2 separate regions of the Homo sapiens genome follow, and region 2 is linked to region 1. Evidence: promoter capture Hi-C in 16 types of primary human blood cells and fetal thymus (Javierre and others, 2016). All regions are on one chromosome and are shown on one strand. Each heading gives the region's core, a stretch centred on a gene start or on the middle of the fragment in contact. The rest is flanking DNA. Distances are from core to core; before and after follow the strand shown. Region 1 holds the start of PIP4K2C (phosphatidylinositol-5-phosphate 4-kinase type 2 gamma). Region 2 overlaps ARHGAP9 (Rho GTPase activating protein 9).

The links. The method cuts DNA at HindIII sites, captures the fragments that hold promoters and counts their contacts. A CHiCAGO score of 5 or more calls a contact.
Region 2: a fragment that was not itself captured here is called in contact with the fragment with the promoter of PIP4K2C in region 1 in 11 of 17 cell types (naive CD8 T cells, total CD8 T cells, neutrophils and 8 more); the score reaches 9.9 in naive CD8 T cells.

What each region holds. Positions count from the first base shown.
Region 1 is chr12:57,586,833-57,593,547 of GRCh38, forward strand. It overlaps PIP4K2C (phosphatidylinositol-5-phosphate 4-kinase type 2 gamma), which reads left to right and starts at 4,360. Exons shown (of 10, transcript NM_024779.5): 1 at 4,360-4,631. The coding sequence starts at 4,458. RefSeq lists enhancers at 3,968-4,017, 4,098-4,599 and a silencer at 4,198-4,457. The HindIII fragment of the contact is 11,010 bases long and covers 1,081-6,715 here.
Region 2 is chr12:57,469,113-57,475,888 of GRCh38, forward strand. It overlaps ARHGAP9 (Rho GTPase activating protein 9), which reads right to left. Exons shown (of 18, transcript NM_032496.4): 10 at 6,721-6,776; 11 at 6,371-6,503; 12 at 6,179-6,286; 13 at 5,763-5,861; 14 at 5,514-5,591; 15 at 5,311-5,364; 16 at 4,930-5,064; 17 at 4,491-4,596; 18 at 3,157-3,576. The coding sequence ends at 3,405. It overlaps GLI1 (GLI family zinc finger 1), which reads left to right. Exons shown (of 12, transcript NM_005269.3): 11 at 319-586; 12 at 1,205-3,156. The coding sequence ends at 2,949. Among named protein-coding and RNA genes, the nearest start is that of ARHGAP9, 7.4 kb to the right of the region's middle. The HindIII fragment of the contact is 536 bases long and covers 4,998-5,533 here.

The DNA of each region.
Region 1 (6,715 bases), core at 3,110-5,609:
ATATTTATCCTACAGTTCATTCAACCAGTCTACGACTGGTGGATATCTATACTGTTTGTAATTTTTACCAAAAGCACTATCTTGTTCTTTCATTTTTGACCCAGAGCAGTCTCAGTCCTGGCATCAATTCCTTCCCACTCCAGTGTTTCACCATCTCTCCACAGCCAACAGATCAATATTCCTGTCCCAGGATCATCCACTACAATCACCCTTCCAACCCCCATTTTAAAGCATACTCCACCTCTCTTCTCTGCTCATATCTCAAAGCTTCTCAGATGGAGAAAACTGCACACCCAAAAAACTGGGGCAAGTAAAACTGAAGAGCCTACAAACCTGCCCGGACTTTCGGTGCTTCTCACTTTCCTCTCCTATCTCCCAGAGCAAGGGTCTACACCCTTTCCACCCTCCTCTGTCAGGCAACAACTTTGTCATCTAAGGCACTTGAGCCTGAAATTCTTTTATCTTGCCCCCTGCCCACATGCACCTACACAATTACCTATCTGTGTCTGCACTTATCCTTTCCTTCTCCCTTCTGACCAGTGATAAATCTCCTTTCTCTGGGCTAAAGTGAATCCCTTCTAGATATTTCATTCTTGAGATACTGATATAGAATCTCAATATACAAATATATAACATATCTAAAACTGATAAACTGATGGAGACTTGAGGAGTTTGCATCTTTTTTTTTTTTTTAAAACAGAGTCTCGCTCTGTTGCCCAGGCTGGAGTGCAGCGGCACAATCTCGGCTCACAGCAACCTCCGCCTCTCAGGTTCAAGCAATTCTCCTGCTTCAGCCTCCTGAGTATCTGGGACTACATGTGCACACCACCATGCCCGGCTAATTTTTGCATTTTTAATGGAGATGGGTTTTCACCATGTTGGCCAGGCTTGTCTCAAACTCCTGGCCTCAAGTGATCCGCCCGCCTCGGTGCATCTTCTTTATTAATGCCTGTCTCAGTGGTCTCATCTCCTTGTAAGGTCCTTCCCATAAGAGTCCCTCCCTTTACTGTGTGTTTCTCTAACTGTGTGTTTCTCTATCTTACTTGTTTTCTTAAAGTCAGATATCCAGAAACCATCCCAAGCTTCCCATCCCCACTTCCTCACCCCCTATTCATTCCTTAGCCCACCTTGATCTGCCTCTTGTTCTGCTCAAAACTGCTTTTCCAAATGGCATTAGTTACCAAATACAGTGGACATTTCTTCTGGACAACAGTCCTTGTTTTGCTTCACCTCTCCATGACATATACTTCTTCACTCCTTCCTTCTTGAAACTCAACTCCCCTTGGCTTTTGTGACCCTGCTGTCTTGGCTCCCTGTACTTCCCTGGCCACCCTTCCGAGTCTTCCTCCCCAGGCCTCTTAAATGCTGCTCTATCCCAGGGCTCAGCCCTTGGTTCCTTCCTTGCTCTTTCTAAGACATGTCATCCATGCCTGCAGATTCCACAATTCTTCAATCCGTATCCCCAGTCCAGAACATTCTGCTCAGCTGCGGGAGCATGTGTCCAGCTGACCTCAGATGCCTCAAACATGTTCCAAACCGAACTCACCTTCCTCTGAATCTGCTCCTTTTCATGTCACCATCATCTCTCTGATATCATCATCATCATTAGCCAGAAGCCTTAGACTCACTCTCAATGCCTCCCTTTTCCTTCAATCCCCACATTCATATGAATTTTCCAAGTTGACATCAAACTGCATCTTTAGATGCCACCCTCTTCTTTCAAACACAACAGCCACTGCTTTAGTTCATTATCTCTCCCTGAACTTTTGCAATACTCAAGTCATCCTCCAGGAACATGCCTGAGTGATCCTTTTTTTTTTTTTTTTGAGATGGAGTCTTGCTCTGTTGCCCACGCTGGAGTGCAGTGGCAGGATCTCGGCTCACTGCAACCTTGGCACCCCCCCTCCCCCAGTTCAAGCGATTCTCCTGCCTCAGCCTCCTGAGTAGCTGGGATTACAGGTGTGCGCCACCACGCCCGGCTAAATTTTGTATTTTTAGTTGAGATGGGGTTTCACCATGTTGGTCAAGCTGGTCTCGAACTCCTTGTAGGGTCCAGACCTACTGGGCTTAGCGGGTGTTCTCCCTGTGTGCGGAGACGAGAGATTGTAAGAAATAAAGACACAAGACAAAGAGATAAAGAGAAAACAGCTAGGCCTGGGGACCACTGCCACCAAGACGCGGAGACCGATAGTGGCCCCTAATGGCTAGGCGCACTGGTATTTATTGAATACAAGACAAGGGGCAGGGTAAGGAGGGGTGAGTTGTCCAAGTGATTGATAAGGTCAAGCAAATCACGTGATCATGGGATAGGGGTCCCTTCCCTTTTAGGTAGCCAAAGCAGAGAGGGAAGGCAGCATACGTCAGCATTTTCTTCTATGCACTTATAAGAAAGATCAAAGACTAAGATTTTCACTATTTCTTCTACCGCTATCTACTAAGAACTTCAAAGAGGAACCAGGAGTACAGGAGGAACATGAAAGTGGACAAGGAGCGTGACCACTGAAGCACAGCACCAAAGGGAGGGGTTTAGGCCTCTGGATGACTGCAGGCAGGCCTAGATAATATCCAGCCTCCCACAAGAAGCTGGTGGAGCAGAGTGTTCCCTGACTCCTCCACGGAAAGGGAGACTCCCTTTCGCGGTCCGCTAAGCAACAGGTGCCTTCCCAGGCACTGGTGTTACCGCTTGACCAGGGAGCCCTCAAATGGCCCTTATGCGGGCGTGACAGAGGGCTCACTTCTTGCCTTCTAGGTCACTTCTCACAATGTCCCTTCAGCACCTGACCCTATACCTGCCGGTTATTCCTAGGTTATATTAGTAATGCCACAAAGAGTAATATTAAAAGCTAATGATTTATAATGTTTATACTGATGATTGATAATTGTCCATGATCATCTCTATATCTAATTTGTATTGTAACTACTCTTTATTCTAACTATTTTCTTTATTATACTGCAACAGTTTGTGCCTTCAGTCTCTTGCCTTGGCACCTGGGTAATCCTTTGCCCACAACTCCTGACCTCAGGTGATCCTCCCGACTCGGCCCCGCAAAGTGCTGGGATTATAGGCGTGAGCTACCGCATCTGGCTTTTTTTTTTTTTTTTTTTTTTTGAGACAGAGTCTTGCTCTGTCGCCCAGGCTGGAGTGCAATGGCATGATCTGGGCTCACTGCAACCTCTGCCTCCTGGGTTCAAGCGATTCTCCTGCCTCAGCCTCTCAAGTAGCTGGGACTACAGGCACCTGCCAACATGCCCGGCTTTTTTTTTTTTTTTTTTGAGATGGAGTCTCACTCTGTCACCCAGGCTGGAGTGCAGTGGCGTGATCTCTGCTTGGCGTGATCTCTGCTTGGCGTGATCTCGGCTCACTGCTACCTCCGCCTCCTGGGTTCAAGTGATTCTCCTGCCTCAGCCTCCTGAGTAGCTGGGATTACAGGCTCACGCCACCACGCCCGGCTAATGCCCGGCTAATTTTTGTATTTTTGTAGAGACGAGGTTTCACCATGTTGGCCAGGCTGGTCTTGAACTCCCAACCTCAGGTGATCCTCCCGCCTCGGCCTCCCAAAGTGCTGGGATTACAGGCGTGAGTCACCGCGCCCGGCTTCGTTCTTTCTTGTCTCCATGTCTTTGTATGCTGTTCTCTTTGTCTAGACAGCCTTTTAACCTCTATTCCTGAACTCCACCCACCCTTCCAAACTCAGTAAAGTCTCTATCCTCTTTGAAGCCTTCCCTGACCAGCTACACTTCCTTTCTTTGTATCATTGTCTTTGCTTCATACACAGTTCTAGGATAGCTCATACTTTGCATACTGCAAACTTGATCTCCATTGGCCAGCCAGTGCCATTAGACTCCCAACTACTTCGGGGCAGTCACTGTCCTATACCCTGCTTCAATAAAAGGAAAATCAGCCCCTAGAACAGGACCTAGTACAACTAAGTGCACAATAAATACTTGTTAAATGAATGAATGAATTTCAAGACGCTTGAGACCACTGGTAAGAATTTTGGGTTTCCAAAACCCTCCCCTTCCCAACCCCCATTCGGTAAGAATGCTTTCGCATTAGCATCAGGTCCGAGGTTACTCATTAGAAACTGGGCAAAGCCGGAAGGCGGCCACTTTGCAGCAAAGAAGCCCTAGACCTTGGGAGTCAATCAGGCCAGCCCAGGCCGCACCACGGTCTCCTAGTTGACAGTTCGAGGGGCCTCGCGGGCCGCTTGCTTCGTCAGCTTACAGGGATCCCGCACGCCAGGTGAGCCCACACACTGAGCGGACATTGGGGCAGGCAGGCAGGCGCCGGGGGGCGGGGCCAGCGTCGCCCCGCCCCGTCCTGCCTCGCCCTGTTCGCGCGTCCGCTGTCCGGCCTCCGGTCACGTGACAGCAGCGCAGGTGAGCGCCGCTTCCGGGGTCGGGCGCCTGGATAGCTGCCGGCTCCGGCTTCCACTTGGTCGGTTGCGCGGGAGACTATGGCGTCCTCCTCGGTCCCACCAGCCACGGTATCGGCGGCGACAGCAGGCCCCGGCCCAGGTTTCGGCTTCGCCTCCAAGACCAAGAAGAAGCATTTCGTGCAGCAGAAGGTGAAGGTGTTCCGGGCGGCCGACCCGCTGGTGGGTGTGTTCCTGTGGGGCGTAGCCCACTCGGTGAGAACCAGCCCTAGACCCCCGCAGCCCTGTCCAAACCCCTCGGCTCCGAGGCGTCCCTGTTTCCAGGCTCCAGCCTCCGGAGCCCCACGCAGTGCCACTCCCCTCCCCCGGGTTGTCTTGGTCCCTGCCCACCAACCCCAGGTGTTCCCCCAGCAGGTTTTCTGACTGTGGACTTTTTTCTCCCCAACAGTTCTTTACTGCTCCACTCTAGTTCCACCTTCCCCCCGTGAAATCCAGCTCCCTGTGCTTTGACTCCTTCCTGCCATGTCTAGCTTCAGCCTCAGGCTACGCGGACTGGCCAGGACCGGGCGCAAGCGGGGAGGACATTAGGGGGAGTGGCTTTTTCTCGGGTGGTTGTTGGTGAGAGTGTAGGTGGAGGGTGAGGGGCCGAGGGGAGTAGATGGATGAAAAGGTTCTTTCACTTTGCTTTCCACCTTGCTTCCCAGCCCCGGTCCTTGGCTTTTGAATCTTGGTTTTGTCTCGGGGAAGCTCCAGGTTTCCTGGGCTTTCTAATCCTGCTTGTCCCTTCCTTTCCCTTCCAGAGGTACAGCATTTTAGAGAAGCTACCCCACCCTGAGCTAGAAGTTGCACACTCTCAGGACTTATGTATATATGCCTTTGGTCTTAACTGCATCCTTATCGCTGGCTAGAGCGATCGTGTTTGGTGTAGGTGGTGGCGATTGTTGACCAAAGAGAAGGCTGAGGGGCTCTGTTCCTGAGGTCACTATGGTGGTGAACTTTTGAAGCAGGAAACTGCTCTGGGAGTCAGGAGGAGGCCAAGGAGACCTCCATCCCCTTTCCTGAGGATACCTCAGCTGAAAGAAGCACAGCCATTGCCCATCTTCCGTCAGGTCTGGAGTGGGAGAAATGCAGTTATCTTGAATGTGACACGGAATATTTTCGAAATCAGCGTTCTTGAATATAGTCATGGCTAGGCTGTGGAGATGGAAGTTGTGAGGAAGAATACGCGTTTTGTCACATTTTTAATTTGTGGTAAAGAATTTCTTAACCAAAAATTAAGAATGTTGTTTGTGGCCAGTCGGATCTCTTTTGGATTTGTGGCTCTCTGGGTGGTAAGCTCTTAGTGAGTATTCAGTGGAAGGCACTTGGTATGGGGAAGGCTGATGGAGGTAGGGCTGCCTCTCATATGTACCTTCCAGGTGATTCATCCATTCCCTGTGGGATGCTTAACAGGGAGGGTTTTCCCTTGTTAAGGATTGGGGGAGTTACATGTAAGACCTACCTCAGCTTCACTAGGTATATATACTTTAGCCCCAGCACCCCACCCTCTGCCAACACACATCTACTTCAAGTGTTTGGAATGGAGAAATTCCTTGAACATATGTCTTAGTGATGATTCAGCTTGCTTAGCAGGTGGGGAGGAGGGGGCAGGAGGAGCTATAGCTGAATTTTAGGCTGGGAGTCTCAAGTGGCTTTTTTTTTTTTTTTAATCTGGAGGGATATGTTCTGTCCTCCTTTTCTACTGAGAACGGGAGGAGTTGGTTGCACTGCAGTGTGTGTGATTTAGGTTAGACTGCAGTTCATAGCCTCTGTGGAATGATCTAGTAAGGATAGGCAAGGCATTCATTTATTCAATTAATAGACATGTCAGGATCACTGTGTGCCAAACATTGTGCTAGTTAGACACCTGAAAGATGCAGACGACTAGAATGAGCCCTTGTTCTTGAAGAGCTCACAATCTAGATGGGAGAACTTACATAAACTAGTGATTAGAGTCATGCAGTAACAAAGGCAGGTGAAAGGTACTGTAGCAACACCAAGGAGAAAGCACGGCTCAGGATTTTTAAGTACTAGAGCTCCCTTTCTACCCTGAATTAGCAGACTGCAGATCCTGGGGGCCGAGGAGAGCATGTGATGCTTGTGTCCTTTGGGCTGTGGATTAGTTTGGCTTTAGGGAACAGACGCCTAATGAGCTCATATCCTCTGATTGCCTGCATTCGCTCTGAAATCAGCTGCTCTTCCTTTACCTTACACCTTAGACAGGTGGGGGCCTACTGCAAACAACTGGGTCAGAGTGGTCTAGGAAGACTGGTCCTGTTTGCAAAGAGATGCCTTTTGCA
Region 2 (6,776 bases), core at 4,016-6,515, 120 kb before region 1:
CTCCTCACAGCAACTTCATGATAAAGGGACTCACTGTTCCCATTTTCAGTTGAAGAAACTCAGGCATAGAGAAATAGCCCAAGGTCATAGAACTAAGAGCAAGAATTTGAGTCCAGCCAGTCCGTGCTCCAGCCTAGGTTCTTCTCATCAAACGTCTCACATTCAGTTTGCTCCCCCATCTCTTACCTGCTTAGCCCTTTCTACACTTACAAGCTTCCTTGGAACCCCAGCAGTCACTGGGACACAGGCTTCAGCCACTCATCAAGTTGAAGGAGCTGTGGGGAAGGGTGTTGCCCTCAGACCTCATCTTCTCCACAGAAGCCACAGCCAAGCCCTGGGGCCCAGTCATCCTGCAGCAGTGACCACTCCCCGGCAGGGAGTGCAGCCAATACAGACAGTGGTGTGGAAATGACTGGCAATGCAGGGGGCAGCACTGAAGACCTCTCCAGCTTGGACGAGGGACCTTGCATTGCTGGCACTGGTCTGTCCACTCTTCGCCGCCTTGAGAACCTCAGGCTGGACCAGCTACATCAACTCCGGCCAATAGGGACCCGGGGTCTCAAACTGCCCAGCTTGTCCCACACCGGTGAGACCTGGGTGTGGGAGGTGTGGCTGGGGTGAGATCTGGACCTGCCCTGAGGTTGAGAGGAGGAAGTCACCCTTGAGGGCTGTCACACAGCACTTTTGTATAATTAGAAAATGGTGTCCTTCCTCAAGACACTTTCCATTTATCAGAAAATAGTTGTGATGTACAAACATGCAAAGGCTAGCCAGGCATGGTGGTGGGCACCTGTAATCCCAGCTACTCAGGAAGCTGAAGCAGGAGAATTGCTTGAACCTGGGAGGCAGAGGTTGCAGTGAGCTGAGATTGCGCCATTGCACTCCAACTTGAGCAACAAGAGCGAAACTCTGTTTCAAACAAAACAAAACAAAACAAACAAACAAACAAGTATGCAAAGGCTATGATGCGAATGCTGTTCCCTAGGATTGTGCAGCACACAACCTGCACAACTGTTCATAGCAACCCTGAATCCTTGGTAACCCAGAAACAGAATAGGCATGGGAGAAGTAGGAGACAGAACAGACTGGTTAGGGATAACGAGCTTACCCCTGAGAATCCAGGGCAAGGCTGTTGCATGGAGGAGGCAGGGTGAAATTTAGGAAGCTCCTTGACCATCCTACCTTTTCTCCCCATCACTTGCAGGTACCACTGTGTCCCGCCGCGTGGGCCCCCCAGTCTCTCTTGAACGCCGCAGCAGCAGCTCCAGCAGCATCAGCTCTGCCTATACTGTCAGCCGCCGCTCCTCCCTGGCCTCTCCTTTCCCCCCTGGCTCCCCACCAGAGAATGGAGCATCCTCCCTGCCTGGCCTTATGCCTGCCCAGCACTACCTGCTTCGGGCAAGATATGCTTCAGCCAGAGGGGGTGGTACTTCGCCCACTGCAGCATCCAGCCTGGATCGGATAGGTGGTCTTCCCATGCCTCCTTGGAGAAGCCGAGCCGAGTATCCAGGATACAACCCCAATGCAGGGGTCACCCGGAGGGCCAGTGACCCAGCCCAGGCTGCTGACCGTCCTGCTCCAGCTAGAGTCCAGAGGTTCAAGAGCCTGGGCTGTGTCCATACCCCACCCACTGTGGCAGGGGGAGGACAGAACTTTGATCCTTACCTCCCAACCTCTGTCTACTCACCACAGCCCCCCAGCATCACTGAGAATGCTGCCATGGATGCTAGAGGGCTACAGGAAGAGCCAGAAGTTGGGACCTCCATGGTGGGCAGTGGTCTGAACCCCTATATGGACTTCCCACCTACTGATACTCTGGGATATGGGGGACCTGAAGGGGCAGCAGCTGAGCCTTATGGAGCGAGGGGTCCAGGCTCTCTGCCTCTTGGGCCTGGTCCACCCACCAACTATGGCCCCAACCCCTGTCCCCAGCAGGCCTCATATCCTGACCCCACCCAAGAAACATGGGGTGAGTTCCCTTCCCACTCTGGGCTGTACCCAGGCCCCAAGGCTCTAGGTGGAACCTACAGCCAGTGTCCTCGACTTGAACATTATGGACAAGTGCAAGTCAAGCCAGAACAGGGGTGCCCAGTGGGGTCTGACTCCACAGGACTGGCACCCTGCCTCAATGCCCACCCCAGTGAGGGGCCCCCACATCCACAGCCTCTCTTTTCCCATTACCCCCAGCCCTCTCCTCCCCAATATCTCCAGTCAGGCCCCTATACCCAGCCACCCCCTGATTATCTTCCTTCAGAACCCAGGCCTTGCCTGGACTTTGATTCCCCCACCCATTCCACAGGGCAGCTCAAGGCTCAGCTTGTGTGTAATTATGTTCAATCTCAACAGGAGCTACTGTGGGAGGGTGGGGGCAGGGAAGATGCCCCCGCCCAGGAACCTTCCTACCAGAGTCCCAAGTTTCTGGGGGGTTCCCAGGTTAGCCCAAGCCGTGCTAAAGCTCCAGTGAACACATATGGACCTGGCTTTGGACCCAACTTGCCCAATCACAAGTCAGGTTCCTATCCCACCCCTTCACCATGCCATGAAAATTTTGTAGTGGGGGCAAATAGGGCTTCACATAGGGCAGCAGCACCACCTCGACTTCTGCCCCCATTGCCCACTTGCTATGGGCCTCTCAAAGTGGGAGGCACAAACCCCAGCTGTGGTCATCCTGAGGTGGGCAGGCTAGGAGGGGGTCCTGCCTTGTACCCTCCTCCCGAAGGACAGGTATGTAACCCCCTGGACTCTCTTGATCTTGACAACACTCAGCTGGACTTTGTGGCTATTCTGGATGAGCCCCAGGGGCTGAGTCCTCCTCCTTCCCATGATCAGCGGGGCAGCTCTGGACATACCCCACCTCCCTCTGGGCCCCCCAACATGGCTGTGGGCAACATGAGTGTCTTACTGAGATCCCTACCTGGGGAAACAGAATTCCTCAACTCTAGTGCCTAAAGAGTAGGGAATCTCATCCATCACAGATCGCATTTCCTAAGGGGTTTCTATCCTTCCAGAAAAATTGGGGGAGCTGCAGTCCCATGCACAAGATGCCCCAGGGATGGGAGGTATGGGCTGGGGGCTATGTATAGTCTGTATACGTTTTGAGGAGAAATTTGATAATGACACTGTTTCCTGATAATAAAGGAACTGCATCAGAAAAAATACCATGCCACTTTATGTATTATTATGTTGGGGAGGAATGATAACAGGGAACAAGAAGAGAAGCAGGGGTTAATCCACTCACTTTCCTCTTTAGAGAAGCTCCCTCACCCATCCCAACACCTCAAGTCACACTCATGAAGATAGAGACAGTCATTTGGGAGATTTAAAGGGATATCCTCAAAACAGAACACCAGCCTCTCACCACCAGAGATGACCGGAAATATGTTTTCTCTTCTTCCTTCCCTGCATCAGGGGAAGAGGCTGGTGAAGTTGGTGAGCATCAGCTGGACCAGCTGCCCTGGGTAGAGAGCATGGGCTGCTGGGTCAGATGTCTCCTGCTCTGGCCGAAACAGGGTTGGTCCAAACACAATTCCCAGGTTGTGGGGTGTCATGCGATTCTTATCTGAGTGTGCTATCACCCTGTAAGCAAAGGCCAAGGAAGGGGATATATGGCAGCAGCTTGCCACTTCATAGCAATCTAACTAACCCTTCAAAGTTCTGAGCAGGGAAGAGTTCACTCTGGGATTCCTCCACATGGTAACAAAAAAACCAAGGAGATACAAGGAGAATGGAGATGGACCAGTGGAGAAACCTTCAGGATACAACCTGAAGATATAACTGCCTCTTCCGACTTCAGGGGCTGCCCCAAGAGTTCTGCCTGCTCACAGTTTGGGAGTCTTTAATTCAAGTGGCCATCCTCTCTCAGAAGTCACTGCCCAGGCCCAGTTCAACCAAAGAAGCCATCAGCAATGTCCCAATGGGAGACAAAGAGGCAGAGGGAAGGGAGAAGTAAGATTTCCCTTATTCCTTTCACAGCATCTTGGTTCCATTTCCCCACTTGATGCTGACCTTTAGGTTTTGACCTAAAGTCTTTGACGGGCACGGTGTAATCCCAGCACTTTGGGAGGCTGAGGTGGGTAAATCACCTGAGGTCAGGAGTTCGAGACCAGCCTGGCCAACATGGTGAAACCCCGTCTCTACTAAAAATACAAAAATTAGCCAGGCGTGGTGGCGGGCACCTGTAATCCCAGTTACTCAGGAGGCTGAGGCAGGAGAATTACTTGAACCCGGGAGGCAGAGGTTGCAGTGAGCTGAAATTGCGCCACTGCACTCCAGTCTGGGTGACAGAGCGAGACTCTGTCTCAAAAATAAATAAAATAAAAAAATAAAGGTTTTGACTCTGGTAATATGCTCCTGCACAGAGGTTGCCTGCTTCCTCACCTGCCCATTAAACTTAGGTGCTTCCCTACCTTCACTCCACCTGCACAGAGTCCCTGTGGCATTCCCCACTCCACCTTTCCCCAGCATGAACAAAGAGGTTCTGTCTTCCTGACCTGCATAAATGCTCCAGGAGGTACCGTAGAGTGTCATGGTTGGGCTTTGGCATTGAGCCTATTAATTCTTGTATCTGAGAGAGGCACTGCTCTGATTCGGAGAGTGCTAGAGAGAGTGATGGGAAAGGCATGGTAGTAAGGTTAGGGAAGGTGCTAGGACAGGATGGGTAAATGCACTGCTCTTTCCCACAGGCATGGAAGACATCATTAATCTAGCACAGCTTTCTTTTTCACATAGCCCAACTATAGCCTCATAATTCTTTTCAATTCAGCCCTCTAAACATTCACAAAAAAGCAACTGGAGTAGGCACCTGAGTTGAACATTATTTTCCATCTCTAAAGTCAGAATGGGAAAGAAGAGTATAAGGGAACCTCTATTCTATTATTTACCACCCGTGTCCCCCACATCAAGGGTTCTTTCCAAAGCTCCAACCCTTACCAAGGGCAGCACGGAAATGGGGCAGCAGCAGTGGTGGCACCAGAGGCTGGGGCAGCTCCCGGAGAAAAAGCTTCAGGGCTCCGGTGACCACATGAATGTCATCCCACTCAGTACTGTCCAAATCTAACCGACCTTCTGGAGGGAGAAGGAGGTATAGGGGCTCATGAAGGGCCAGAAAGATTTAGAGACTGAGAGATTAGAAGTTCTGGAGAAATCCAGTCAAAGCAGACTATAGGAATGCCTAGAGGGTCTGCAGTGGGGCAAGGTAGCTAAGGTGGGGATGAGGACAACCCTCCCAGGAATAGTACATGGGGGTTTCCACGGGAAGCAAAGAGGATATGTGGAAGTTTTAGGGATCTGAAGGGTCTTCCATGTAAGTACCTTGTCCTGGCTGTTCTGGGAACACATACCTCCCATCGGAGGTGACCGCACGCTCTGCAACATGAATGAGGAGAGATCAGGAGCTAAGACATACACTTCCAGCCTGACGGCCTCTCTATTCTGCCAGCTTCCTCATGTAGGACCGCCCATGGTTCTCAGGCAAGACATTCTTAGTACAACCACTGGCCCACAAGCCTTCTCACCTCTGTCCACCAGAAAGCGAAGCTTCTGGACCACTGCCAAGTTCCCGCTCACCCGATAAATGCCATCCACATCTAGACCTGGGAGATGAGGAAGGAGTAGATAAGGACTGCTGCTTGAAAGTGTGTGTGGTGAGGGATATAAGGGTGGAGAGAAAAAGGGCAGTAGGAAGACTAGGTAGAATGGGGGAGGCAGAAAATTCTAGGCCTTAGCCTGTTGGAAGAGGATTCTGGGGTCTCTGAGAAAATGACCTCTTTTATCCACAGCAGCAATGCAGAGCCGCAAAAAGCTGGGCACCGTGTCTCCTTCCCGCTGGCAGAGTGATTCCAACTGGCAGCCGAACACCTGGTCTGGGGAAGTAGAGTGAGGCGGGAAGCCAGTGCCAGCGTCACTCACAGGAGCTCTTCTCAGCATAGGTCTTTATCCTTAAGTGAGGCTGGTCCTCCTGGCTGCCTGTGCCAGGCCTGGGCAAGGAAATACACTCCACCTCCCTTCCCCTGCTTCAAACAATCTGGCAAAGGGGTACAGGTCACCCCAGCTTCTCCCCTAAACAATCTGGGGTAGTGGGAAAGCAGCAGTCACAGAAGGTTGTGGTCTAGTTCTGGGAAGCTCTACTCTGAGCCTCGCTGGAGTTTTCTTATCCATGAACCTGGCCCAGCCCCCTCACCTCGGAGCAGACCCCGCTCCTGCAGGCTTTGTAAGGGCGGTCTCTTCGCGATGAGCCGCTTTAGTTTGTTGCGCACGCGGTTCTGCTCGGTGCCTTCGGGCCCCCGAACTGCAGGAGGCAGGTAGAGCGGGGCGTGAGCGCCCGGGAGCCTCGCTGCGCTCCCGGACTCTCCCTCCCCAGCCCGCGCCTCACTGGAGCTCCGGCGGCTGCTGAGGCGCAGCAGCGGCTTGGACACCAGCTCCGACTCCTCTTCTTCGTCCTCCCCGGCGCTCAGCTCCGCGGGTCCAGAGCCCGACAGACGCAGCTCCAGGGGGTTCTCCCGATCCTAGACCCGGGGCGGGCCGTGTCGAAGGTGAGAGAGGAGAGAAATCTGTATCCCTAGCTGGACTCTGACCCACTGCCGGGGTCCCACATCCCGGCCCAGGCAAGGGCTCTCCACTGAGCCCACCCTGCCCCCAACTGCTCCTGACTCCTATCGTTCCTACCCCACTCCCTTGGTCCCGGCCGGTCGGAGCCTCCCTCCGGGCCTCCACCCATCTAACCAGCCGCTCGATGACAGTCCGCAGCGCGCGGTGCCAGGCTCGCAGCTCTGTCTCGT